Linked DNA regions of Homo sapiens: all the other regions are linked to region 2. Evidence: promoter capture Hi-C in 16 types of primary human blood cells and fetal thymus (Javierre and others, 2016). All regions are on one chromosome and are shown on one strand. The core of a region is centred on a gene start or on the middle of the fragment in contact, and the rest is flanking DNA. Distances in the headings are between cores, read along the strand shown. Region 1 holds the start of SNRPB (small nuclear ribonucleoprotein polypeptides B and B1). Region 2 holds the start of STK35 (serine/threonine kinase 35). Region 3 has its middle 100 kb from the start of SIRPG. Region 4 has its middle 93 kb from the start of SIRPA.

The links. Contacts are between HindIII fragments. The CHiCAGO score rates a contact against its expected background, and 5 or more counts as called.
Region 1: the fragment with the promoter of SNRPB here is called in contact with the fragment with the promoter of STK35 in region 2 in 7 of 17 cell types (erythroblasts, total B cells, activated CD4 T cells and 4 more); the score reaches 8.2 in erythroblasts.
Region 3: a contact is called between a fragment that was not itself captured here and the fragment with the promoter of STK35 in region 2, in 1 of 17 cell types (M2 macrophages). The highest score is 5.3, in M2 macrophages.
Region 4: a fragment that was not itself captured here is called in contact with the fragment with the promoter of STK35 in region 2 in 2 of 17 cell types (naive B cells and total B cells); the score reaches 9.7 in naive B cells.

What each region holds. Positions count from the first base shown.
Region 1 is chr20:2,469,256-2,476,104 of GRCh38, forward strand. It overlaps SNRPB (small nuclear ribonucleoprotein polypeptides B and B1), which reads right to left and starts at 1,534. Exons shown (of 7, transcript NM_003091.4): 1 at 1,433-1,534. The coding sequence starts at 1,435. RefSeq lists enhancers at 1,154-1,273, 1,434-1,483, 1,494-1,543. The HindIII fragment of the contact is 1,844 bases long and covers 119-1,962 here.
Region 2 is chr20:2,099,868-2,105,945 of GRCh38, forward strand. It overlaps STK35 (serine/threonine kinase 35), which reads left to right and starts at 1,960. Exons shown (of 4, transcript NM_080836.4): 1 at 1,960-2,308; 2 at 2,901-3,498. The coding sequence starts at 2,015. RefSeq lists silencers at 1,846-2,035, 2,136-2,425, 2,436-2,485, 2,776-3,305, 3,326-3,375 and an enhancer at 2,721-3,689. The HindIII fragment of the contact is 3,640 bases long and covers 1-2,626 here.
Region 3 is chr20:1,758,746-1,765,874 of GRCh38, forward strand. It overlaps the pseudogene CKAP2LP1. Among named protein-coding and RNA genes, the nearest start is that of SIRPG, 100 kb to the left of the region's middle. The HindIII fragment of the contact is 697 bases long and covers 4,999-5,695 here.
Region 4 is chr20:1,799,522-1,805,884 of GRCh38, forward strand. No RefSeq gene overlaps it. Among named protein-coding and RNA genes, the nearest start is that of SIRPA, 93 kb to the right of the region's middle. RefSeq lists a silencer at 3,851-4,100. The HindIII fragment of the contact is 2,718 bases long and covers 2,233-4,950 here.

The sequences.
Region 1 (6,849 bases), core at 284-2,783, 370 kb after region 2:
AAATGAATCCAGCGCCTATTCTAACCAGTTATCCAAACAATATCCTACCAGGTTTCCCTGCTTCCAGTCCCATCGAATATACATGCCAGAGCTAGAGCAATCTTTCTAAACACCACTAAGCTTATGTCATTTTGCTGGTTAAAATCCTTCAGTGGGCAGGGTGTGGTGGCTCACGGCTGTAATCCCAGCACTTTGGGAGGCCAAGGTGGGTGGATTAACTGAGGTCAGGAGTTCGAGACCAGTCTGGCCAACATGGTGAAACCCCGTCTCTACTAAAAATACAAAAAATTAGCCAAGTGTGGTGGCGGGTACCTACAATCCCAGCTACTTGGGAGGCTGAGGCAGGAGAATCGCTTGAACCCGGGAGGTGGAGTTTGCAGTGAACCCTGATCGATCCACCGCACTCCAGCCTGGGCAACAAAAGCAAAACTCCGTCTCAAAAAAATAAAAATAAATTAAATTAAATCCTTCAATGACATGCCTCACCACCACTGAGGTAAAATTAACATGCAAGGCCTTTAGTAACTAGCCTCCTGCCAATTCTTCCCGTCTTCCCTTCTTTCTTCCTTTCTCCTCCAGCAACTTTTTCTCAGTCAACAAACGCAGAAAAATCCAGTAACTTTTTAAATCTTGTTACCCTTCAGCCTTTGTTCCTTCAGTTCTCCGGGTCTGTAATATTCCCCCCATTTTCGCCGGGAACATTCTTGCTAATCTTTTAGGAATCTGCTCAGGAACCATCTATTTGAGAAAACATTCTTACCCCGCCCCGCTGCCGTTACTTTTACCGAATGACCACACTGAATTATATTATGTGTCCCCAGCTACCTCTGTGAAGGAAGCAAACATATTTCAGAGAGTAGCCCCAGCGCCTGAGAAGTCAGGCACAGGCAAACACGGAAACGTGATGAGCAACTGAGTGGAGCTCTTCCTCCATTCGCCATCACCCTCCTCCGCCCTCCTCTCCATCCAGCAGACCTAGCGAGACTCTAGCGTGGTCCACGAGCCCCTTCCACCCACTTCCGCCAACTCTTTCTCAGACTCACAAACTTCCGCAAGTCTGAGCCTTTTACCGGGTCCCCCTGCGGCTCCAGTGCCTGCTCCGAAGCCCGGGACATATATTTATTCGGCAAAAGTTAACTTAGTGCCTACTGGGTCCCAGGAATTATGGCTACAGCGGTGTCGAGAGCCGCGGTTCTACCCTCGCCCCTGCCGAGCGACCTCGGCCTCCGACACCGGTTCCAACCTTTTCCTCGACCCCATGCCTAGCCGAACCGCCAAGGTCCTGGTCTTTCCCGCCCAGACCGAGCGGCCTCGGCCCAGGCCTTCACCGCCCTAAGTGGCTCCAACCCACGGCTTCCTCCCCGATCAGTCGCGGTTCCCACTCCACAACAGACTCGGAAGCTCCCGCGCCGCCAGCCTGTGCCCTCCTTACCATGGTGGCGGTTCTGATGGCTCTGATACCCGCCGGATTCGCCTCCTCAGAGGCCTAGCCTCTCTCCCACAGCCGATTTCCCGCCGCCGCTACCGGAAATGCAGCACCACGTAAAATGCGGTCGGGTAGAAACCTACTTCCGGTCCAGCTCACTAGCCCTGGAGTTCCGGCCCCGGAGCGGAGCTTCTGCCGAGCAGAGGCGGGGCCTGGGGACTGGGCGTTAACATCCGGCTTTGACGTAAGGAGAGCCTTAAGTTCCTGTTTGGACACCTTCCTAGCTTAAATCCGTACTGAGAGCTGCTCTGTGTCACACTCATTTCTCTTCACCCCGCCTTTCCCATTAACCTCTCGGTCCTCATTTCCCATCACCCTCCCCGGCTCTCTCCTCTACAGTCACTATTCTTGCTTTTCCCTCCACTGGCTGGACGTGCTCCTTTTTCAGCCCCTCTGCATTTGCTTTCGCCTCTGCCTGGAATGGTAGTCCCCAAGGTATACCAGAAGGCTGCTGCCCTCACCTCTTTCAAGGTTTAAGCTTAAATAACATTTTCCCAGTGAGGATTTCCCTAGCCATCCTGTAACCTTCCCACCCACCTCATCCTCATCTCTCCTGTATTTCCCTCTTGCTATCTAACACGCTGTATATTTTTGTTAGTTATTTTATTATCCCCTCCCCATTAGAATGTAAGATCCATAAGGGTGTGAATTTTTCTCTTTGTGTATTACTCATTGCTGTAGTGCCTAGAACACTTTAGCACAAAATAAGGGCTCTACCCATATTTGCTGATAATCGCATCCAGTCGTATGACATTTATTTTTTTTCTATGACTTTTTTTTTTCTTTTGAGACAGAGTCTCAGTCTGTCACCAAGGCTGGAGTGCAGTGGCACAATCTCGGCTCACTGCAACCTCTGCCTCCCCGGTTCAAGCGATTCTCCTGCCTCAGCCTCCCGAGTAGCTGGGAATACAGGCCTGTGCCACCACACTCGGCTAATTTTTGTATTTTTAGTAGAGACGGGGTTTTGCCATGTTGGCCAGGCTGGTCTCGAACTCCTGACCTCAACTCCTGGTCTCGAACTCCTGATCCACCCACTTTGGCCTCCCAAAGTGCTGGAATTACAGGCGTGAACCATCACACTGGGCCCTTCCTATGACTTTTAAATACAGCATATACACCCAAGGCTTTCAAGTTTGTTCCTCTAACCTTGGTCTCTTCATTTAACTCTTGGCCCTTTATATCCAGCTGCCAGCGTGATGTGAATGTCTAATAGGTATACCAAATTTAACATGTTGAAAACTGAATTCTTGATTCTATTCACTGTTTCTAAAACCACTTCACCAGTGTTCCCCATCCCCGAAGTTTCTTGGATTAAAAAAGAAAAAAAAGAAAATGACAAATTTGAAGCATATTTCATTCTTCTCTTTCTCTGCCATCGAATAATCAAATTCATCAGCAAATCCTGTGGCCCCCACCTTCAAATTATCTTGAATATGATTGTTGTCACCCACTCCATTGCGTCCACTCTAGTCATAGCCACCATCGTCTCTGTCTTGGATCATTGAACGAGCCCGTAACTTGTCTCTTTGCTTCCTTTCTTGTTCTCACGGCAGCCAGAGGGATCCTTCTAAACGTACTGGGATATCAGATGATGTCATGTCCTGGTCTCCACTTACCAAAAACTTCCCAGCACACATGGAATAAAATCTAGCTCTGCGCTCCTCTCCAACCTCATTCATCTCCGTCAACATTGCCCTCATTCATCCTTCTCCAGTCACACTAATCTCCTTGCTGTTCCTCAAACCCAGCAAGGAGAGCTTCCACCTTGGTGCTTTGCCATCTTCACACCATCTCTAAAGGGTGTGTTCTGTTGTCCCGTTTCCTGTCACCTGTAGATGAAGAGGCGAAGCCTCATAGAAATGAATTATGTTGCCCAAAGTGGCGGAGTCAGAGTGGGAATATAGGTCCGTCTGGCTCCTCAGCTGTTCATTTGCCCCCACCTTACCCAGCTGCCTAACACTTCATTCATGCATGCATTTAAAATCATTTTTATTTAGCATCTACTAAGGCCATGCACCATTATTGGGATAGAGTCCTTTCCCTCACGGAGCTTTACATCCTACTGAGAAAGACATAGTAAACCAAATAAATAAGTATGCAATGTAACATTAGAGTGATATGAAAAAAATAAATAAAGGCAGAGGAACTGAGAGGGATAGGGTACAGTTTTGGCTAGGTGGTCAGGGGAAACTTCTCTGAGGAGTGGTATGTGAGCAGAGACCTGAACCTACACTCAGGTCTATCAGAAGGATGAATATTATGAAGGACATTCTAGAAAATGTATATAAAGGGAATCATATAATAATACGTGGTCTTTTGTGACTACCTTCTTTCACTTAGCACAATGTTTTTAAGGCTCATCCATGTCATGACACGTATCAATACTCCATTCCTTTTTATGGCCAAATAACATTCCATTGTATGGATGTACAGTAGTCCCCCCATATCCATCTTTCACTTTCTGTGGTTTCAGTTACCCACAATCAACTGCAGTATAAAAATAGGTGAGTACAGTACAAGATATTTTGAGACCACATTCATATAACTTTTATTACAGTATATTTTTATAACTGTTCTATTAGTATTGTTAATCTCTTACTGTACCTAATTTATAAATTAAACTTTATCATAGCTATGTATGTATAAGAGAAAATAGTATATATAGGGTTTGGTAGTATCTGCCGTTCCATGAATCCACTGGTGATCTTGGAATATAACCTCCTCAGATAAGGAGGGAACTACCATATTTTATCAGTTCATCAAATGACGAACATTTGGATTGCTTCCACCTTTTGGCTGTTATAAATAATGCTGCTGTAAACATCGTGTACAAGTCTTCACGTGGACATGCTTTCATTCCTCTTTGGTATCCAGATAGGAGTGGAATTTCTGAGTCATATGATAATTCTGATTAACCATTTGAAGAACTGCCAGACTGTTTTCCAAAGTGGCTTCACCATGATACATTCCCACAAGTGGCGTATGAGGGTTCTGATTTCTCCACATCTTCACCCATATTTGTTATTATCTGACTTTTTGATTCAAGCCATCTTAATGTGAAGTGCTATCAATTTCATCGTGGTTTTGATTTGCATTTCCCTCATGACTAATGATGTTGAACATCTTTTCATGTGCTTGTTGGCCATTTATATATCATCCTTGGAGAAATGCCCATTCAGATCCTTTTCTCATTTTTTAATTGGACCATTTGACTTTTATTATTGAGTTGTAAGAATTCTTTCTACATTACAGATACAAGTTCCTTGTCAGATATATGATTTATACAGGTTTTCTCCCATTCTGTGAGTTTTTTTTTTTTTTTTTTTTTTTGAGACAGAGTCTCACCCCATCACCCAGGCTGCAGTGCAGTGGTGCGATCACAGCTCACTGCAGCCTGACCTCCAATGCTCAAGCGATTCTCCCACCTCAGCCTTCCGAGTAGCTGGGACTACAGATGCATGCCACCACGGTGGCTAATTTTTGTTATTTTTTTTTTTTTTTGTAGAGACAGGGTTTCACCACGTTGCCCAAGCTGGATTCAAGCAATCCACCCACTTCAGCCTCCCAAACTGCTGGGATTACGGGCATGAGCCACCATGCCTGGCCTTTTCACTTTCTTGGTAATATCCTGTACAAAAGTTTTTTAATTTGGATGAAGTCTAATTTATCTTTTTGTTGTTGTTGTTGCTCATGTTTTTGGTGCAATAAGAAAAATCTTTTCTGCCAAATCTAAGATTATGAAGATTTACCCCTTTGTTTTCTTCTAATAGTTTTATAGTTTTAGCTCTTACATTTAGATTTTTGATATATTTTTAGTTCATATTTTATATATGGTATAAGGTAGGGTCAAACTGTATTCTTTTCTAAGTAGATATACAGTTAGCTCAGCATCATTTGTTAAAAAGACTCTTCTTTCCCCCACTGAATAATCTTGGCACCCTAGTGGAAAATCATTTGACCATTGACACATGGTTTTATTTCTGGACTTCCAATTCTATTCCTTTGATCTATATGAAGTCAGAAAAAGTGTGAATCCTCCTCCTTTTTCTTTTTCAAGGTTGTTTTGGCTATTCTAGATGCCTTGCAACTCAATTAGTTTGCCAATCTACAAATAAGGGAAAAGAGGTCATGAATTCAGAGCCGGGGATTAAACAGGCAATTCATCTGGTATTTACTTGATAAAATGGTCCCAAGTTTCAGTCTAGATCAGGGGCGGGCAAACTTTTTTAAAATATGTATAAGACTGGTTAGTTTCCAATATTTTTTTTGTTAAGGGCAGAGAGCATTTTAGGGCTATCGAGCCATTTGGTCTCTGTTGCAATTACTCAACTTTACCATGTACCATGGAAGCAGCTATACTCAATACCTAGCAAATGAGTGTGGCTGGGTTCCAATAAAATGTTATTTATGGATACAAATAGATGTCACAAAATATTATTATCCTTTAAATTCTTTGCGACCATTTAAAATGTAAAGACCATTTACATTTTGTGTAAATGTAAATGTAAAGACCATTTACATTTTGTGTGGCTCAAGGCCACACAAAAACATGTGATCAGCAAGGATTGGCATTTAGGCTGTAGTTTGCCAACCTCTGATGTAGACCATTAGATTTCTGTGTCTAGATTCAGGGTCACAGCCCCAGCTGAGTATTCATAATTAATAGTTTTGACTTGCATTATTTATTTGGCTTATCTCTGGGCTCACCAAATATATGCAGTCAAAATTCATGTCTTTTCCCTCATTTTAAAAACACACACATATACCTTCACACTTGTATCAATCTACGTTCGACAGGGAGACAGAAACCATACAGTAATTTAAATTAAAGAATTATTTTGCCAGGGATGGTGGCTCATGCCTTTAATCCCAGCACTTTGGGAGGCTGAGGCAGGCGGATCACCTGAGGTCAGGAGTTCAAGGCCAGCCTGGCAACATGGTGAAACCCCATCTCTAAAAATACAAAAATTAGCCGGCTGTGGTGGCGGGTGCCTATAATCCCAGCTACTCAGGAGGCTGAGGCAGGGAGAAATGCTTGAACCAGGGAGGTGGATGTTGCCGTGAGCTGAGATCGTGCCATTGCACTCCAGCCTGGGCAACAAAGCAAGACTCGATCCCCACCCCCCAAAAAAATTATTTTCCAAAGATAAATGTAAATACAAAAAGAAAATCCTACAGCTGAGGGGGATTACCCAAGGATAAACTTGGAAGGAGGGTTCCCTCCCCAAGGCTAGGGTTCAGTCCTTCTTGGAGTTGTGGTTGCAGCCTACTGGATAGCAGAAAAGTTTGAGGGGGAAGGTTGTGCAGGCCAGAGTTGGTCCACAGTCACTAAGCAAGCAGAAATAACCCTCTGGGGCACAAGC
Region 2 (6,078 bases), core at 710-3,209:
AAAGGTTATGGTTAAAAAGACCTTCTGATCACCATTTTGCAACTGTAATAATTGTTTCAAGCAAGAATCACCATGAATTCTGAAACCAGTGGGTAAGAGTCTAAAGAAGAGGATATTTAAATAGTCTCAAAATATCTTCCCACAGAATACTTAATAGTTACAGAAGGAAAAATCGTAACTTTATGGTAGAGTGTAACTACTCCTACACCACCTCAACCAAATGATGGAAGTTAACACCACGAATACTGGGACAAACACAATGCCATGTGCCTCCTGATGAAAGGCCCTGAGGAGGCAACTTTTTTCAGCAGTAGTCCTGCCAAAAAATGCATACCCTCTCAGAATAGCAAGGGATGGGTTGGTGGGGGGTGGGGGAGGAGAGAAAAATGGATACTCTGAAACTAATAAGAAAACACAGATGAATAAAAATTTAGGGACATTCTACAATATAACTCGCCAGTATTCTTCAAAAATGTCAAGGTCATGAAAGACAAAGAAAGGCTGGATAACTAACTGCCCTTCCAGATTAAAAGAAACTAAAGAGGCATGACAACTCAGTGCAACGTCTGATCCTGAATTGGATCCTGGGGAATAGCTATAAAGGACATTATTGGGACCATTAGCAAAATTTAAATATGGATGGAGTGTATTAAATAAAACAATTGTATCATTGTTAAAATTCCTGATTTTTGACCACTGTACTGAGATTATGCCAGATAATGTCTTTTTTTTAAGGAAACACACACATATATTTAGGATAAAGGAGTTTGATGTTGGAAACTCTAAAATGATGTAGTAAAAAAGAATATATACATTATATATGTGTGTGTGTGAATATCTATATACCGTATACTGATTTCCTTTCTTTTGGGGTATATACCATATAGATATCCACACACAATATGTATTTGTGTGTATATATACACATACACGAGAGGATATGGATATGCAGCAAAATATAACAATTTGTTATTCTAGTGGAAAAGTATATGATCTTTACGATTCTTGAAATTTATGTGTAAATTTGAAATTTAATCACAAAAAAGTTAAGAGGTTTTCAGCGACCAAATACATTATAAGAAATGGCCTGTATCCAGTGAGCACTCTTTAGCTCATTCTTTTTCTCCATCACACTTACCACTGGCAAAAATTATCCTGTGCATTTATTTAATAATACTTAACATTGTGTGCAAGGCTGTCCTAAGTGCTTTACCTGTATAACCTCTGTGGATCTTCTTACAGGTAAGGAACAAATACACAAGAAGGTTGACTAACTTGCCCAAGGCCACCCATGTGGTTTGTCTCCTGCAGTGGCACAGAACCTCAACCAAGGCAGAAACTGCCTTGTCTATTGCTCTTTCCCCAGCGACTTGGAATGGTGCCTAGCACATTACGGGTGTTCAATAAACATCTGTAGATTCAGTTAACAAACACTGGGCACCCACTAGGCCTACACTGGAATACAAAATACAGAACAAAATATTCAAAAATCTGTGCCTAAATGGGAGCTTTGGGTACTAACAGCCCCACACCCAATTAGCCTCCATCTAGGTATTTCATTTGGGTCTATCATTCCTGGGAATTAAAGCCCATTCTATCCATTTTGCAGAGGATCATTAGATAAACGGATGCTCAGGGTGGGTCAATGATTTGCACAAGATCACTGGGCTGGTAGAAGGGAAGGTCGGGATTCCAACCCAGTCCCTGAGGTTCCCAGGACAGAGCTATGAATCAAACGACCAAGACAATCACCCAGTCAGTATTTATTAGGCGCCTACTGCGGACGGTTGGTCTTCACGCAGATCAGGCGAGAAGGGATAGTGATGCGCGGGCCGCTGCGGAGACCCGGAGCCCGCCGCGGATCACGGGAATTTCGCGCCTATTTTTTGTTGGCTGGGTGTTCTCGCCAGTGATTGGGTCCCGGCAAGGCGTGCCGGTGCGCTCGGCTGCGGCTGCTCCGTCGACCTTTGCAGGACCGGGCGGTGCAGGGCTCACTCGGCTGGCGTCCCGGGGGATGGGCCACCAGGAGTCTCCGCTGGCCCGGGCGCCGGCGGGAGGTGCAGCTTATGTAAAGAGGTTATGTAAAGGGCTCAGCTGGCGCGAACACGTGGAAAGCCACGGGAGCCTAGGAGCCCAGGCTTCCCCAGCGAGCGCCGCGGCAGCAGAAGGATCCGCTACACGCCGGGCTCGGGCCGCCACCTCCCGCGCTGCTCGGTCCCGGAGGCAGCCCGGGCCCGGAGCGGACCATCCCCAGGCAGGGGCTCCAGGGGGGAAACGGGCCGCCCGGAAGTGGAGGTGCGCGGGCCAGGTAAGGGCGCCGTTGGAGGACTGAAGGCCAGCGCCGAGGCTGGAGTTACTGCCACTGCCTCCGCGCTTGGGAAGGGAAATCGGGTCCTCGGCCAGTCGCACTCCGAGAAGCCGAACTTTTCAGCCAATCCCTTCTACCCGTCGCCCTCGGGGACTTGGGTCGGTCCGCTGGGCTCCGCTAGGGCTTAATTCAATGGACTGTTTACACCCGGGCGAACACAAGGCGGGGCGCGGGGAGGAGCGTCACAGAGGGGGCCAAGCAAAGAAAAATATTTCCGCCGGCCAAATCGCGTCTCTAAGCGGTTTTCAGAAGGCGTGAAGCTTGCTGGCTCTTCTTTTTCCTATCGCTACATGACAAGCTAACAGAGAGAGCGGAGAGTTTGTGCTTTTCTTTCCGGTTCCCCCTCTGAGCTGCTGCCCAGTGGTTCGGTCTTTCCCGCTTTCCCCTCCCCTCCCCCGTTCAATCAGCGGCGGTGGCTTCCGTCTTAAAGGGGCCGCGGCGGCCGGGGGAGGAGGAGGTGGGACGCCCCGCGGCCTACGCTCCTGGCCTCCCCGCCTTGGCCTGGCCGTTTAACCGATTCTTTCGCCCGCAGGTCACAATCCAAGGTCCGGCTCCTCCGCGTCCCAGGGCCGGACGGAGGGATGAGGCAGGGGGGGCCCGGGCAGCGCCGTTGCTGCTCCCCCCGCCGCCCGCAGCCATGGAAACGGGGAAGGACGGCGCCCGCAGAGGTACACAAAGCCCGGAGCGGAAAAGGCGAAGCCCAGTGCCGCGGGCGCCCAGCACGAAGCTGAGGCCGGCGGCGGCGGCCCGGGCCATGGATCCGGTGGCGGCCGAGGCCCCGGGCGAGGCCTTCCTGGCGCGGCGACGGCCTGAGGGCGGTGGCGGGTCCGCGCGGCCGCGTTACAGCCTGTTGGCGGAGATCGGGCGCGGCAGCTACGGCGTGGTTTATGAGGCAGTGGCCGGGCGCAGCGGGGCCCGGGTGGCGGTCAAGAAGATCCGCTGCGACGCCCCCGAGAACGTGGAGCTGGCGCTGGCTGAATTCTGGGCCCTCACCAGCCTCAAGCGGCGCCACCAGAACGTCGTGCAGTTTGAGGAGTGCGTCCTGCAGCGCAATGGGTTAGCCCAGCGCATGAGTCACGGCAACAAGAGCTCGCAGCTTTACCTGCGCCTGGTGGAGACCTCGCTGAAAGGTAGGAGCACCGCGGGCCTTTCCACCCACGCAGGGCCTGGACCCCCTGCTCTCCGGACGGCTTGGCCCACACTGTTCCTGGCCTTCCTAGGCCTCAGACCTGGTCCCTGTCACCCTGTGCCCTGACACACCCTCCTTTCCTGGGCCCAGGCATTCGGCCCTCTCTTCTCAGGTCCTAAGATCAGTCCCTGGGCCTAAAGTTGGCTGGTGTTTCCATAACAAGAGCTCGTTTAAGTGCTAACCATTAACTTAATAAGTGCTCAAGAATTGCGAGCTATGGTTATTAAACGTCTTCTATTTTTAAGATCGGTTGGGGGAGTGGAGGAGGGGTCGGGTTCAGTTAGTAGCAGAACTGCGGAGCCTCCTCACCCCCGAGGGCCTCTCTCTTTCCCTCCCAAAACAAACAAAAAGAAAAAACTTGACTGGACCCACCCACACCCTCTCCCTGTCTGGTTCCAAGTTTCCTGACACCCTCCAGCTCCAACCCCCAAACTCCTGTGGCTTCCTCGTCTGCCTTTTCCTCTGAGGCCCCCGGCCCTTCATCCCAGGCAGCCGAGCAAACTGACTGTCTTCTGGCTTGGTCCTCTGAGGGGTGCAGGCTGACAACCCTCACAGGTGGCCTGAGAGCTGTCACATAACAAAGCATCCGGCATCTTTTCCCTCCGTTTTACATTCTTAATCTTTTTCTTAACCTCAGAGGCTGGCTGGGAAGTGGTTTTACTTAAAAGGAAAATGGGGTACATTGAGGCAAGAGGTCTTGCAGTCCTGGAGGAACTAATTATCTTAGTTTCCGGGTTTTAACTGCAGTTAGGGAATGTATTCATCCTAACTACTCAGTACTCACAAGCCTTTTTCATACTACCAGTAGCTAAGTGTCTGCTTGGAGAGGAGAGAGGCGGTAGAAAGTTTGAGGAGACTTTCCGAGGCAGGAGGATCCAGGGGAAGAAAGTTTACTAATCCGAGTCCCAGCTGTGGTCTCAGTGCTGAAGTAATTTTTAGGTAATAACTTCAAAAGTAAATTCTATCCTTTTTCTATAAATAAACTAAGGCTTAGAAGTGAACAAATAACTTGATCAGGGTTAATCCGCTTGAAAGGGAAGTTAGACTGTACTCCTGGTTTCCTTACATTTCTCAGAGCTTAAGTGACGGGGATCCCAGATCTGTCTTGATTCGAGGCCTGGATCCTTTCGAAGGCGTAATGCTGTTCTCTGCACCCTGAGGATGAACTTTTTTAAGAGTGGGTAGGATTTGGGGTGAGTTTGGAGGGGGTGGTTTCCCAAAATCTTGTTACTTTTGCACAACTTAAAGATCCCCCAAGTCTTTCCCAAGAGAACGCTTTGTCCCATTGCAAGTCAGTTGTTTGACAGTGGAGTTGGAAACATGAATCAGTATCACCTAGAGTCCTTTAATTAGATGTCTAACTTTATAAAGTCCATCCGTGCCCCATCCATTCTGAGAAGCCTACCCTCTCCCCAGGGTGAGTGTTTTTGTTTTGAAAAGACTTCCAGCAGGGCACAATGGCTCACGACTGTAATCCCAGCACTTTGGGAGGCTGAGGTGGGAGGATGGCTTGAGCCCAGGAGTTTGGGAACAGCCTGGGCAACAAAGTGAGACCCTGGTCTCCACAAAAAATAGAAAAAAAAATAGCCGGACCTGATGGCACAGGCTTATAGTCCCAGCTACTTGAGAGGCAGAGGCAGGAGGATCAGTTGAGCCTGGGAGGTTGAGGCTACAGTGAGCCATTATCATGCAATGGCACTATAACCTGGGCGACTGAGCAAGACCCTGTCTCAAAAAAAAAAAAAAAAGACTCCCTAGGGGATTCGTTTATCTTACCTATATTCTAGGAGCGCATCACTTACTTTGAAGTCTTTCTATTCTCAGACTTCTCTTAGTCTTCTCCTTTACTGCCAATGAATGGTCTGGACTTCCTACTACAGGATTGCCTTGGGATGTAGGAATTTGCCTTGCCGAATGTTTATTCCTTGTGTCCTCAGTTCATTGACGCCAGTCTCGAACCTTCAACCTCAGCTTGAAGCTCTTGCTTACTCTCTCAACATATAAATACTATGTGGACTTTCCTCACCTGAAGAATTTGTCAAAATTCCAAAGTGACCCCATGGCAGCATAGCATAGTGGTTAGTACCATGGACTTTGGGGTTAGACCCTCTGGCTCATCCCAGGACTGACTGCACAAAACATGGAGCAAATTGTTTGAACCCTGTGAGGAGCATTCCTTTATTGTAAGATAGTGGGTATGTACCTATGACATTAGGTACATAGGGTCACTGTGCAAACTGTTAATGTCAGCAAGTGCTCCACATAGGGAGGAATTCACTGCCTTATATAAGTTCACACCATGTTCTGTACTCTTCTACCCTCACCCCCTTCAAGATTCACATTGTTCTTGCTCAAGTTTCCCAAACTTGTTTCATCATAGAACACACCTTGTTTTCTGTGTTGTCAGGCACACCAAGTTGACAGAAACACTGGTGTTTTCATCCTCCCTTTGTGAACTAAAACTGGGACCTAGAAAAATGAAATCTTTTGCTTTAGGCCGTACACTGGATTGGATTGGTCC
Region 3 (7,129 bases), core at 4,097-6,596, 340 kb before region 2:
GATGGGCCTTATGCTTTAACAGGCAAAACAGCATGATTGATAACATTCTCTTGGATAGATTTGGGCAATTATTTTTGGCTTTTAGATAAAGCTCAGTGTTTGGCACTTGAAGTTCCTTTCGACTTCTAGGTACTCCTGGAGCTTTCTCTGTTGTTCGGTGGCAGCAGTGGTGGTGACAGGCCCTGGCCTCACCATGACTTCTCAGTCACAGTGTTTCTTCCTCTCTCACCACTTTTATTGAGTATAGTACTGGAAGTCCTAGCCAGGGCAATAAGGCTAGAAAAGGAAATAAAAGGCATACATATCAGAAAGAAAGAAATAAAACTATCTCTATTTGTAGATGACATAATAGCCTTTGTAGGAAATTCTACAGAATCTACAGAAGAGACTCTTAGAACTGATAAGTGAGTTCAGAATGGTGACAGACTACGTGATCAACATGCAAAAAGTTAACTTTAATTCTTTTTTTTTAGACATAGTTTCACTCTGTCGCCCAGGCTGGAGTGCAGTGGCATGATCTTGGCTCACCACAACCTCCGACTCCAGAGTTCAAGTGATTCTCCAGCCTCAGCCTCCCAAGTAGCTGGGACTACAGGTGTCCGCCACCATGCCCAGCCAATTTTTGTATTTTTAGCAGAGACAGGATTTCACCATGTTGGCCAGGCTGGTCTCAATCTCCTGACCTCAGGTGATCCACCTGCCTCGGCCTCCCAACATGCTTGGATTACAGGCGTAAGTCACCATGCCTGGCCAAGTTACCTTTAATTCTATATACTAGCAATAAACCCATGAAAACCAAAATTTAAAATATAATACCATTTAATTTGCTCAAAAATGAAATAGCTATAAATTTAACAAAACATATATAAGACTTGTATGCTGAAAACTGCAAACACTGATGAAAGAAATCAAAGAAGATTCAAATAAAGAGGAATGTGTTAGTCAGCATTCTCCAGACAAACAGAACCAATAGGATACATATATCAATAGATGGATGAGATGGGATTTACTATGGGAATTGACTCACGTGATCATGGAGGCCGAGAAGTCCCGCGATATGCTGTCTGCAAGCTGGAGAACCAGAGAAGCTGGTGGAGTGGCTCGTTCTGCATTTGAAGGCCTGAGAACCAGGGGAGATGTTGGCGTATCTGTCAGTCAGAGGCTGAAGGCCTCAGACTCTACAGAGGTAGAGATTGGGACTGGGTAATCTCATAGCACTGGTGTAAGTCTTGGAGTCCAGTGGCCAGATAACCTGGAGTTCTGATATCCAAGGGCAGGAGAAGATTGGTGTCCCAGCTCCTGAAGAAAGAGTGAATTCATCTTTCCTCTGCCTTTTTGTTCTATCCAGGCTCTTAACTGATTGAATGGTGCCCATCTTCATTAGATGAGGGCAGATCTTCCTTACTCAGTCCACTGATTCAGACACTAATCTCTTCCAGAAATACCCTCAGAGACACACCCAGAAATAATGTTTTGCCAGCTATCTGGCTATCCCTTAACCCACTCAAGTTGACACCTAAAGTTAACCATCACAGGGAGACATGCTATATCCATGGACTGTGAGCCTCAGCATAATAAAAATGTCAATTCTATCCAAACTGATATATAGGTTTAACACAATTTCTGTCAGAATTCTAGACATATTTTTGTAAATATATATGACTATTTTTAAATTTATATGAACAAAGGGAAAAAAAGAGAACTGAAAGAGTCAAAACAGAATAAAGTGGAAGGAATCAATATACCTGATTTTAAGACATGATAAAGATGTAGTAATCAAAACTTTGTGATATTGGCAGAGGAACAGACACATAGATCGATGGTACAAAATAGAAAACCTGGAAACAGCCCCGTACAAGTACAGACACTTGATTTTTCAAAGTAGCAAAAGCAATTCAATGGAGGAAGGATTGATTCCACAAGTGAAACAGTCTTTTCAACAAAAGGTGCTGGATATCCATAAACAAAAAATGAACCTCAACCGAAACCTCATACCATACATTATACAAAAATTATCTCAAAATAGATCGTAGGTTCAAAGATAAAACATAAAACTATAAAATGTTTAGGAGAAAATCTTCAGGATCTAAGGCTCGATGGCAGATTCTTAGACCTGACATCAAAAGCATGATCAATTTTAAAAATTGATAAGTTGGATTTCATCAAAATTTAAAACTTTCGCTCTCCAAAATACCATGTTAAGGATGAAAACAAAGCTACTGACCGGGTGAAAATATTTGCAAACCACCCATCTGACAAAGGGTTCAAATCTAGGATATCTCTCTCAAAACTCAACAGTTAAAAACAACAAAACAAGACAAAAACTTCCATTACAAGTGGGTAAAGGTGGGAAAACTCAAACTGTTTTTCCTCTGCACTCATATAGCAACAATCAACACAGAAGACTTCTGTGACCAAATGTGGGAGATTTCTTCTCCACCAACAAGCAAGCAATCAATTCTGCAGCAGACACCAGCTGGGTGTCCTCAATCCAATTCTAATCTGATGCTATCTATCTGGAGGTAACGTCAGACACCACGGGGATGAGCACTCAGTCCCATGGAACTTCTCCCCACTTCCAATGCCAATTGCAAGGAATGTGCTTCTGACTCACTGGCTATGAATCAGAGATCTCACGACCTCTTCCTTGTGTTTAATTAATTTGCTAGAGCGGCCCACAGAACTCAGGGAAACACTTAAGTTTGCCAGTTTATTATAAAGGATATAGATGAAGAGATGCATAGGGAGAGGAATGGGGAAGGGACACGGAGCTTCCATGACGTCCGCAGGTGCAGCACTTTTCAGGAACTTGTATGTGTTCAGCTGTCCAGAAGCTCTCTGAACCCAGTCCTTTTGGGTTTTTACAGAAGCTTCATTATGTAGGCATAATTGATTAAATCGTTTAATCGACTTACTCTTCAGGTGACCAGTCGCCATCCTGAAGCTACGGAGGTGCTCCCAGCCATCAGTCAATTCATTAAGACACAAAAAGACATCTCTTTGGAGAGTCTAAGGATTTTAGGGGTTGTTTGGCAGGAAACAGGGTTGAAGACCAAATATATATTTCACAATATCACAATGGGTGAAAGACATAAAGAGACATTTTATCAACAAGGATATATAGATAGAAAATAAACACATAAAAGATGCTTACATCGCTAACCATCAGGAAAATGCAAATTAAGATCATAATGAGATATTATTACTATGTACCTAATAGAACAGTTATAGTAAAACATAGTGACAATATCAAATGCTGGCTAGGATGCGGGGAAACTGAATATCTAATACATTGAAAATGGGAATGTAAAATAATACACCCACTCTATAAAACTGGTTGTCAACTTCTTAAAAAGAACTAAGCATACACTCACTATACTACATGAACCAGCAATTGCCCTCCCATGCATTTGTCCCAGAAAAATGAAAACTTATGTACACACAAAAAACCGTGCACAAATGTTTGTAGCAGATTTATTTGTAACAGCAAAACACTGGAAACAACCAGTGTAAGACAAACTTGTCTTACAAGTGAATGGCTAAACAAACAGTATGCATCCATACAATAAAATAACACTCAGCAATAAAAAAATAAATTATTTATATATGCAACAACTTGTAAGGATCTCAAAGGCATTATGTTGAGTGAAAAATCAAACTCAAAATGTTACATACTGTATGATCCCATTTATATAACATTGTCAAAATTACAGAGATATAGAAGAGGTTAGCATTTGCCAGAGACTTAGTATGGTGAGGGTGGGTGTCACTATAATGAGGTAGCACCAGGGAGACCTTTATGGTTATGGAATTGTCTGTATTTTGACTATAGTGGTGATTACACAAACATACACAGGAGAGACTGAACATAAGCAAAAGCTAGGAATATTACCAGACCCAGCTGGAAATAATGTTCAGCCGGGTGGGGAGGTTCATGTCTGTAATCCCAGCACTTTGGGAGGCTGAGGTGGGTGGATCAATTGAGGTCAGGAGTTCGAGACCAGCCTGGCCAACATGGTGAAACTCTGTCTCTACTAAAAATACAAAAATTAGCCAGCCGTGGTGGTGCACACCTGTAATTCCAGCTACTAGGGAGGCTGAGGCAGGAGAATTGCTTGAACCCAGGGGGCAGAGATTGCAGTGAGCCAAAATTGCACCATTGCACGCTAGCCTGGGCGACAGAGTGAGACCCCATCTCAAAAAAAAAAAAAAAAAAAGAAAGTAAGAATATTCAAACACTTATTACAATATAGACATCGACTCTTAAATTATCCCAAATTATGATATAATCATATTCAGTTGATGGGGAATAGAAAGTGTTCACGTGTGGCATTAAGTCAGCAATGGTGGAGCATTATATTACCATCTGTAATTGTGGGAAGTCAAAAGTAACGCCTAATACTGAAAAATGAAGAAGTGGCAATATGAACATGTTATATGAGATATGGCAGTAAAAGTCTAAGATAATCTATTAAAAATTGAGAATAGTTGCTTCTGGGAGATAGAATATGGTTGGATGTTAGGGAGACTCCAATTTTTATATGTAAAACTTATATAACTATTTATTTGACTCTTAGTGTGTACATGTAACTTTGAGAAAGATAAACACTAATTTAGATCATTACACGAATGTTATAGGAGTTACACACAAAGGCCAGGTGGGGTGGCTTACACCTGTAATCCCAGCACTTTGGGAGGTGAGGATGGTGGATCACTAGAGGTCAGGAGTTTGAGACCAGCCTGGTCAACACAGTGGAACCCTGTCTCCTGGCATGGTGGCATGCGCCTGTAATCCCAACTACTTGGGAGGCTGAGACAGGAGAATCGCTTGAGCCTGGGAGGCAGAGGTTGCAGTGAGCCAAGATCACACCACTGCACTCCAGCCTGGGCAACAAAGTGAGACTCCATCTTAAAAAAAAAAAAAAAAAAAAAAAAAAAAAAAAAAGTTATATATAAAAAGAATATCCATACTATTAGCACTAGTAAGAGAATTTCATAAGCTTTCCAGCTCTAAGATTGATGTTCAAAACTCAATTGCAATCCTATTCAGTAGTCAACAACCACTGAAAAAAGTAATAATAAATTTTAAAGATTCCATAAACTAGAATATATTAAAGGCGTCTCTAACTAACGATGCAAAAGACCATTATAGAGAAAAAAACTGTAAAATTGTAAACTGAACTTCATAAAAGAAAACCTAAATAAATAGAGGTATACCATGCCCATAAATGGGAAGTCTCAATACTGGAAAAATGTAAATGTCTCCAAAATAATATATGAATTCCATGGAATCAATTAATAAATCTAAAAGGATTTTTCATGAAAGTTGATAAAGTGAGTCTAAAATGCATTTAAGCCAAGAATAGTCACAACAATTTTGGATAAGAAAAGGTGAGATGACTTGCCCAAAAGATATCAAAACTTACTGTGGAGCTATGCTAGGCCAGGCACAAGCATACCTCGGAGATATTGCAGGGGAATGTTGTGGCTAGTTTGATCATCTCTCGAGACCACTAAAATTTTCTCCTTATCAGCAATAAGACTGTGTTGCTTTCTTATCAGTCATGTGCTCACTGGAGTAGTATTTTTAATCTCCTTCAAAAACTTTTCCTTGGCATTCACAGCTGGCTGAGTGTCTGGTGCAAGAAGCCTAGCTTTCAGCCTGTCTCAGCTTTGGGCAAGCCTTTTTTTACTAAGCTTCATCATTTCTAGATTTGATTTAAAGTGAGCGATTTGCAACTCTCGCTTTCACTTGAGCACTTAGAGGCCGTTGCAGGGTTATTAATTGGCCTAATTTCAGGCCAATGCCTCTCCCTGTGCCTCAGGCTAAGTAGGGAGGCCTGAGGAGAGGGAGCAAGACGGGGGAACGGCCAGTAGGTGGAGCAGTCAGAACACACAAGACATTTTCCATCAAGTGTGCTGTTTCATAAGGACACGGTTCGCGGAGCCACAAGACCATTACACTAATCACAGATCCTCAGATCAGATATAATAATTATTAAAATTTGAAATATTGCAAGAATTACCAAAATGTGACAGAGACACGGAGTGGGCACATGCTGTTGGAAACATGGCACCAATAGACTTGCTCAATGCAGGGTTGCCACAAACCGTCAATTTGTGAAAAACGCAGTGTCTGTGAAGTGCAATAAAGTGAAGCACAATTTAATTTGCCTGTATTGACAGAGAGCTAGACAAGTAGATCAGTGGAACACAGAGCTCATCGAAGGAACCACAGATCTATAGACACTCGCTATATAGCAAAGCTGGCAGTGGATATCAGGGGGTGCTGGATAATTAATCCTTCCAGAGAAAAGATAAGATTCCTATCATCTATAAAAAAATAAGATTCCTACCATCTATAATGCATACACACACGTGTGCACACACACCAGCAGAAAAATATAACAAGATGTGATGGTGTGCGCCTGTAATCCCAGCTCTTTGGGAGGCTGAGGCAGGAGAATTACTAGAACCTGGGAGGCGGAGGTTGCAGTGAACCTAGATCGTGCCACTGCACCCCAGCCTGGGCGATGGAGTGAGACTCCGTCTCTGTCTCAGCCAGTGTCCAGAAGAGCTTTTCCCAAGTTTTCTTCTTTTTATAGTTCCAGATCTTACATTTAAGTCTTAAAAAGATAAATTTAATAAAAGTGCACAAGGTTTATATTAAAAACAAAGCTGTTTGTAAATGACATAAAAGACAACATGAAAAAATATAAAAATATACAGTGATCCTGAAAAAGAAGCCCCAATATTTATACCACTGTATGTATAATATAGGAATACTCTGGCTGTGTACATCCAATTCCCTCTCCCAGCCTTTGTGCCATTGTATCAGGTATTATATGATATTAATGCGTTATTATCATAATATCCACACTGCGTTATTATTTTTAGCTTTAAACATTCACTTATCATCTATAGATTTTGTTTAAATGTCTTTTAAATTTATGCATCTATTTACTTTTTCTGTTCTTCATTCTTGTGTATGGATCCAGATTTACATCTGGTGTCATTTTCTTTGTGCCTGAAGGGTGTCCACTAGTATTTCTTATAATTCAAGTCTGCTGGTGATGATTTCTTTTGCTTTTGTTTGATTTTAAAATACATTAATATCGGAATAGAAGAA
Region 4 (6,363 bases), core at 2,342-4,841, 300 kb before region 2:
AGAGGACTGAGAAGAAGGAGACAGGTGGCTAAGTGAAGCACAGTGGATATTTTACAGCCATGAAACTATTCTGTGTGGTACTGTAGTGATTGATATATCTGCTAAGGGCTTGATATCTAGAACATATAAAGAGGTCCTACACTATCCATTTGTCACTATGCATTTGTCAAAACCATAGAATTTTACAGCACAAAAAGTAAACCTTGGCCGGGCGCGGTGGCTCACACCTGTAATCCCAGCACTTTGGGAGGCCGAGGCAAGTGGATCACCTGAGGTCGGGAGTTCGAGAGCAGCCTGACCAACATGGAGAAACCCCATCTCTACTAAAAATACAAAATTAGCTGGGTGTGGTGGTGCATGCCTGCAATCCCAGCTACTCGGGCGGCTGAGGAGGAGAATCGCTTGAACCCGGGAGGCGGAGGTTCCGGTGAGCCAAGATTGCGCCATTGCGCGACCTTGCAACAAGAGGGAAACTACATCTCAAAAAAAAAAAAAAAAAAAGTAAACCTTAATGTATGCCAATTTTTAAAAATCTACTAGGAGGATGGGGAATCACAGGATAAAATGCAGATGATGGCAACAGAATCTAATTGTATTACAAACGTACGAGGGATCTCATTGAAGGGCATGGAGACTAGAGGTGCTGACCTAAACAACTTTGGAAATGACTGGAAACAAGAAGACTCAAGATGAAAAGAGCTGTCCATAAGCACTGCCCTCCAGTTGGTAGAGCTGTGTCTCACAGGGGTATGGTTTGACAATTCTGAAACCCCAGTACATGTGTACTAACATTGAACAATTAAGTAAATGGATGGCAGATGGTAGGAGCCAGGTTTTTCACTGCTGAAGTGGGAGGTTATAGATAAGCAAAGGGAGAAGGATAGAATGAACTGTATGAATGTGTTAGAGTCAGAGACGGTAGCATGAGCTCATGTTTAACTTAATATAGATACCAATGATAGATACAGAATCATTACAGTTATGTGAATACACGGGCTAGGATACATACATGTATTTCCTAGCTCTGCCCCCTGGTAGTGGGTCCCCAATAGCAACATGCAAACCCACCATCCAGATCTGTTTCTAAGAACATTCTCCAGTGAAAGGAACCGGGCTCCCTGGAGAAACGGCTGATTCTAGGGCTGGGAAGAAAATATGCAAGATGAGTCTGGAGCAGCTTTAGTGCCAGAAAGTAAGGAAGGGCTCAAAAACATAACAAAAAATTATGGCAAAGGGAAACAGGAGCCAATAGAGAGAGCTCCCAGGCGCCAAAACTGGAACAATTTAAGCAACAATATAAATAACATAGTATTGGATTATAATGAAAAGTACAAAATAAATATCCATGAGTGCACACGGATAGAATAAATGACTGAATAAACCAGTAGCAGAAGAATTCCAAATAACTTATTACATACTGCCCCCTCAAGGAAGTGAAGCATAACTCCCCATCCCTTAAGTGGAGGCTGTGCATAGCGGCTATTCTGTGAGGCTATTCTCATTATTAGACTGGGGTTATTATTAGACTGGTTTGGGGGAGGAAAACCACAGAGGTACAGTGTCATTCTCAAAAAGTTATATCAAGAGAATATGCTATCAATATCAATATCACTTAATGTCAACCCTGATGGCCTAGTTAATTATTTGATCAGTCTTCTGTTGAAATTATTGTTGTTGTTAATTATTATTGTTGTTAATTATTTGATCAGTCTTCTGTTGATGAGCCTTGAGGCTTGAGGTAACGTCTGTCAGGTAATGGCAAAGGTAATGTTTATATCCAAAGGTAATGTTATCACCATAATGCTAACTATAACATTATAAATATATTTTTAAATGGCCACAATACCTCAGGGCCCTTGCATCATACTCTGCCGTGTGACTTTGCTGCTCCTCCCTGGGAGAAGTGATTTCTATTTCCCCACCTCTTGAATCTGGGCTGGCTTGTGACATGTTTGCACCAACAGAATGTAATGGATGTAAATTCACACCAGTTATACAGTCTCAGGAGGCACTGCATGTTATCAGATGTTGACGGACACATAGCCTGAACACCCCTCTAACCCTAGCTGATAGCCAGTCAACTACCAGACATGTGATTTAGACCATCCTAAATAAACCAGCCCCAGCTGACCCACCCTTTCTGATCCCAGACACAAGGAGCAAATGCAAAGTTAGCTGAGCTTGGCCCAGATCAGCAGTGCTACCCAGCTGACCCACATGAGCAATACCAAAAGCTTTCTATTTAAAGCCACTGAATTTCGGAGTGGTTTGTTATACCGCAATAGCTATGTGCCTCACTGGCACCTAGGCATAACAATGCATGTAGGTGCTTATTTGTTGTAACACACTGTGATTACAGAAGATTAGAAGCAGCCTCAAGGCTCATCAATAGAACACTGATCAAATAATTACAGGAGAGCCAAACAATGGAATATTATGCAGCTGTTCAAAAGAACGAGGCAGCCCTATGTGAATCAACATGGAACAAACTCCATGATGCATTTTTAAGCGAAGCAGCAAGAGGCAGAAGAGTATACAGAGCAAGCTACTATTGATCCTGTAAAATACTTGCATTTGCATGGACTGTCTCCGGGTGGGTACACAGAAACATGTAACAATGGCTGTCTCTAGGAAGGGGAACTGGGTGCCTGGGGAACAAGAGTGGAAGCGAGACTTCCTTTTCACGCTATCCTCTTTTTTATCTTTTGAATCGTGTAAATGTGTTATCCATTCAAAAATAAATAAAACCAGAATGTAAAAACTCCTATGCCTTTCAAATGCAGAGAGCCTTATTATTCTCTTTCCAAGACTCCCAAGATCCACCGGGACCAAAAAACAGCAGTCAGGGAACAATTCCGATTTTCCCTCCTCTCTCCCCCACAGCCCCCACCCGCGCAGAGCGAAGCTGGCTTCTCCGGTAAACCCCTGCTTGTGAGTTGCGCCCAGGCGACACTACCTCGCCTGCCACCGGAGGGCAGCGCGAGGCTTCCTTCCCGGGGAGGAACTGCGGCGAGACGGTGGTCGGCCCTGAATAGCAAGCTGGCTCCTAGATCAAAGGCTCTGGCATTCCGTTTTTGCGTGCATGTTTGTTTGTTTTCTTTCTTTCTTCTTCCTCTTCTTTATTTTTTTAAAGGTCTCGACCCAAGAACCCCATTCCAGGCAGTAGGTTCGCCAGCCATTGCTTGTGCGTCTTCGCGGAGAGAGAGGGGGGAGATGCCCCGGCGCTCCTTACCCGGCTGGATAAGACCCTTTGGGGAACTTGCTGCTTCGCAAGTCTTACTTGTGAGGACCCGGAGGGTTTGCCTTTGACCCCGCCTGTGACCTTAAGAAAACCCCTTTCTACCCTGCGCCTGTCCCACAGCTGGAAGTGATAATTTTAAGAATGAATTAAGCACTCGGTGTGTGACACTGCGGCACTAAGCACTTTCTGGACTGTGTTAGGCCCCATTTTACAGACGGGGAAGCTGAGGCCTCCAGAGGCGGAGTAACCTGCTCATGGTTACAAAGCTGGTCAGCGGCGGGCAGGATTTGAATCCAGGGTTCCCGGTTCCTAATCCTCTGCTTTTACCACTTAATTTATCCTGCCTCCAAGGGCTGCTGGGAAAAAGGCGGATTTCAAAGGAGAAGCAGCTAAGGAAAAGCTCTGGAAAGGGCCAACGGAGCGGATATTCCCGGAGCCCCTCTGCGAGCCACGCGCCCCTCTGGGAAGCCCGCTTCCCCCTGCAGACAGGCGCTGTGACACGCTTGCGCCCCGGTCGAACAGGCGAAGAGGCCGAGGCCCAGAGCGGCGCAGGGCGAGCCTGGAGGCTGCGCCCCAGACCTGGACCAGCCACGGACGCCGCTCCCGCCGCTCCCTCCGCTCCGCTGCGCTCCGCACGCTGGCGCCGGCTCCCCGAGGCCCCGGGCGCCCCGGCCGCACGCCTGGGTAAAAGGTCCCGAGGAGTCCGCAGAAGCGCGCCCACGCCCGAGACGGCCGTTTCCGCCGGCCTGGGAAAGGGGCGGAGAAGGGGGTCGCCCGGGCCGCAGCGTGCCGGTCCCCGCCGGCCGAGCCGTGTTTGGGGCCAGTCCCCGCACCCCGCTTCTTCCCCACCTGGGGAGCGGGGCGCCGCGGTAGGGGCACTGGAGCGCACGATGCACCCCGCCAACGAGTCCTTTCTGCAGACGGGGTTCCTGTTTTCATGCAAATGCCTTTGTTAGCGCACCGGGAACCAGGGGGACGGAACTGCAGCTGACGCGGGCTGCGCGCCGCTTTTCCGCCTTCGCTTGATTCGGCCTCAACGACTTAAACGCGCCGGGAACAAAAACGCCGGCGCCGCGGAAACCCTCAGGAGCGGCACGAGAAGCGCGGCTCCGCTGGGGTCCGCGAGAAGCGGTGCGGGCGGCCGGGCTGGTGCCTGCAGGCCCTCTCACCGCATCACCAAGGGCAAGGAACCTCCAACTGTCCCTCAGTTTCTCTACCTGCACTGGGATGTCCTACATAAGGAGTCAGCTCAGTGCCCGCATCTTGCTGTAATTATTTTGTCCAAGCACTGTGGGAGGCAGCGTTGAGGAGGCTGTTGTGGGGAGTTTGCCTGTCAGAGAGAAGAGGGAAATAAACAAGAAACATACAGACAAAATAATTTCAAATAGCAACAAGTGTTAATATCGTAGCAAACACCAATGCAGCGCTTATGCCAGGCTCTGCTCTATGCTATATGCACATTAGGTCATGTAATCCTCACTCCCTTGTACAGATAGGAAAATGCTGGTTGAATAATCTATTGAAGGGAAATAGGAAGTTGAACAATATGTGGAGAAACAGGTTGCACGATAGGTGGAGAAACAACAGGTTGCACGATATGTGGGGAACCAGGTTGAACAATAGCCTCAAGTGCGCAGTAGGTAGGCTCGGCACTTGAGAATATTGGGCCCAGCCTGGGTTTCGACCCAGCCAGTCCAGCCCCAAGTGGAAGCTTTTGCACACTCCATTACACCAGTTTTGGCTGTACTAGGAAGGATGTAAAGTGGTGACACGCCCAAGAGAGAGCTGGGGCTAGACAGGAGCTGCTCCTAAAAGGATGTCAATGGACGTCTCTGTGCAAGAGAGTAAGCTGAGGCCTGCACAGTGAGAGGAACTAGCCATGCAAAGAGCTGGGCGTGTCCAGCAGAGAAAACAGCAAGGGCAAAGGCCTTGAGGTGGGAGAGTAGATGTGGGGTTTCATGAACATAAGGATGGAACTCAGTGAGCAGTAGTAAGGAGACTGGAGATGGTCAGCAGCTGGGGGTAGCAGGCTTTGCAGGTCTCGGCAAGGAGCTGGACTTTTATTCTAGGTGTGATGGGAAGTTGTGTTGTTATGGCCACTGAAGGAGTTGCGTGGATGGAGTTGGACCAGAGGGTGGGTGCCCTTCCTGCCTTGCCAGCCTTAGGTTCAAGGAGGAAGTTGATTGCTTAGGCCTTAAGCTTGCCCCTCCTCATCTGACCTCCTGGCTTCTAGGACATTCCTGAGGACGTACACCAAGTCTCCAACATTACCTGATGTCAGATCAGGTAAGCCCTCATCTTATAGATAGGGCTAAGACTGAGGCCCTGACTTCAGGGATGTGTCTTCACCTTTGAGTAGGAGAAGCAGGGGTGGTATCTGCTTCATCTACTCATGTACCTGCAGCACCTAGCACAGGCTGACCAGCCCATCCTTGGACCCAGGCAAGCGGGGCTCTGCCCTGGCCAGCCTCCAGCTGCGTACATCCCCACAGGCTAGAGAGTCTGCAGTGCCAAGGGGATATACCCATCCAAGTCTTTGCTCCTTGTCTAGAATACTACAGATTCCTAGGATTCCTGAGCTCCCTACCTAAAAGTCCCAAGCCTGCTGCCAGGCCTCTTCCTGGTCTATTGTCTGGAGGCAGAACACTAAGCCCAGGGTGTAGCCAAGGGGCACTGCAGAGGATAGGGTGTGGATGGAGATTGGACCTGCAGCCTGGGATGTCTACACACATGCAGGTGAGGTGTGCACGGTACAGGATGGAGCTGGGGATGAGAAGGGAAGGTGGCAGTTTATAGGCTGGGAAATGAGCGACCAGGGAATGGGGCTGGCTCTCCCCAGCACCGCCACATTTCAGTGCGAGTATCTAAGAAATCCAAATCAATCCTGGCCTTTCAGGCTGCTGAGAAGTTATACTTACTGAGGAGAAGGATAGAACATTTAAGAGAAGGTATTGGTCTGATTTATAATTTTTAAATATTTAGATTTAAGGGTGAGTGGACACCAGCCTCCACCAATATCAAGAGTGTGTTTGGCCTAGACCCTAGGAGATATTCAATATTTATCAAATAGATGGATGAATCTCATTTAATTTAATCCTCACACAGACTCAACGGAGGGAAAT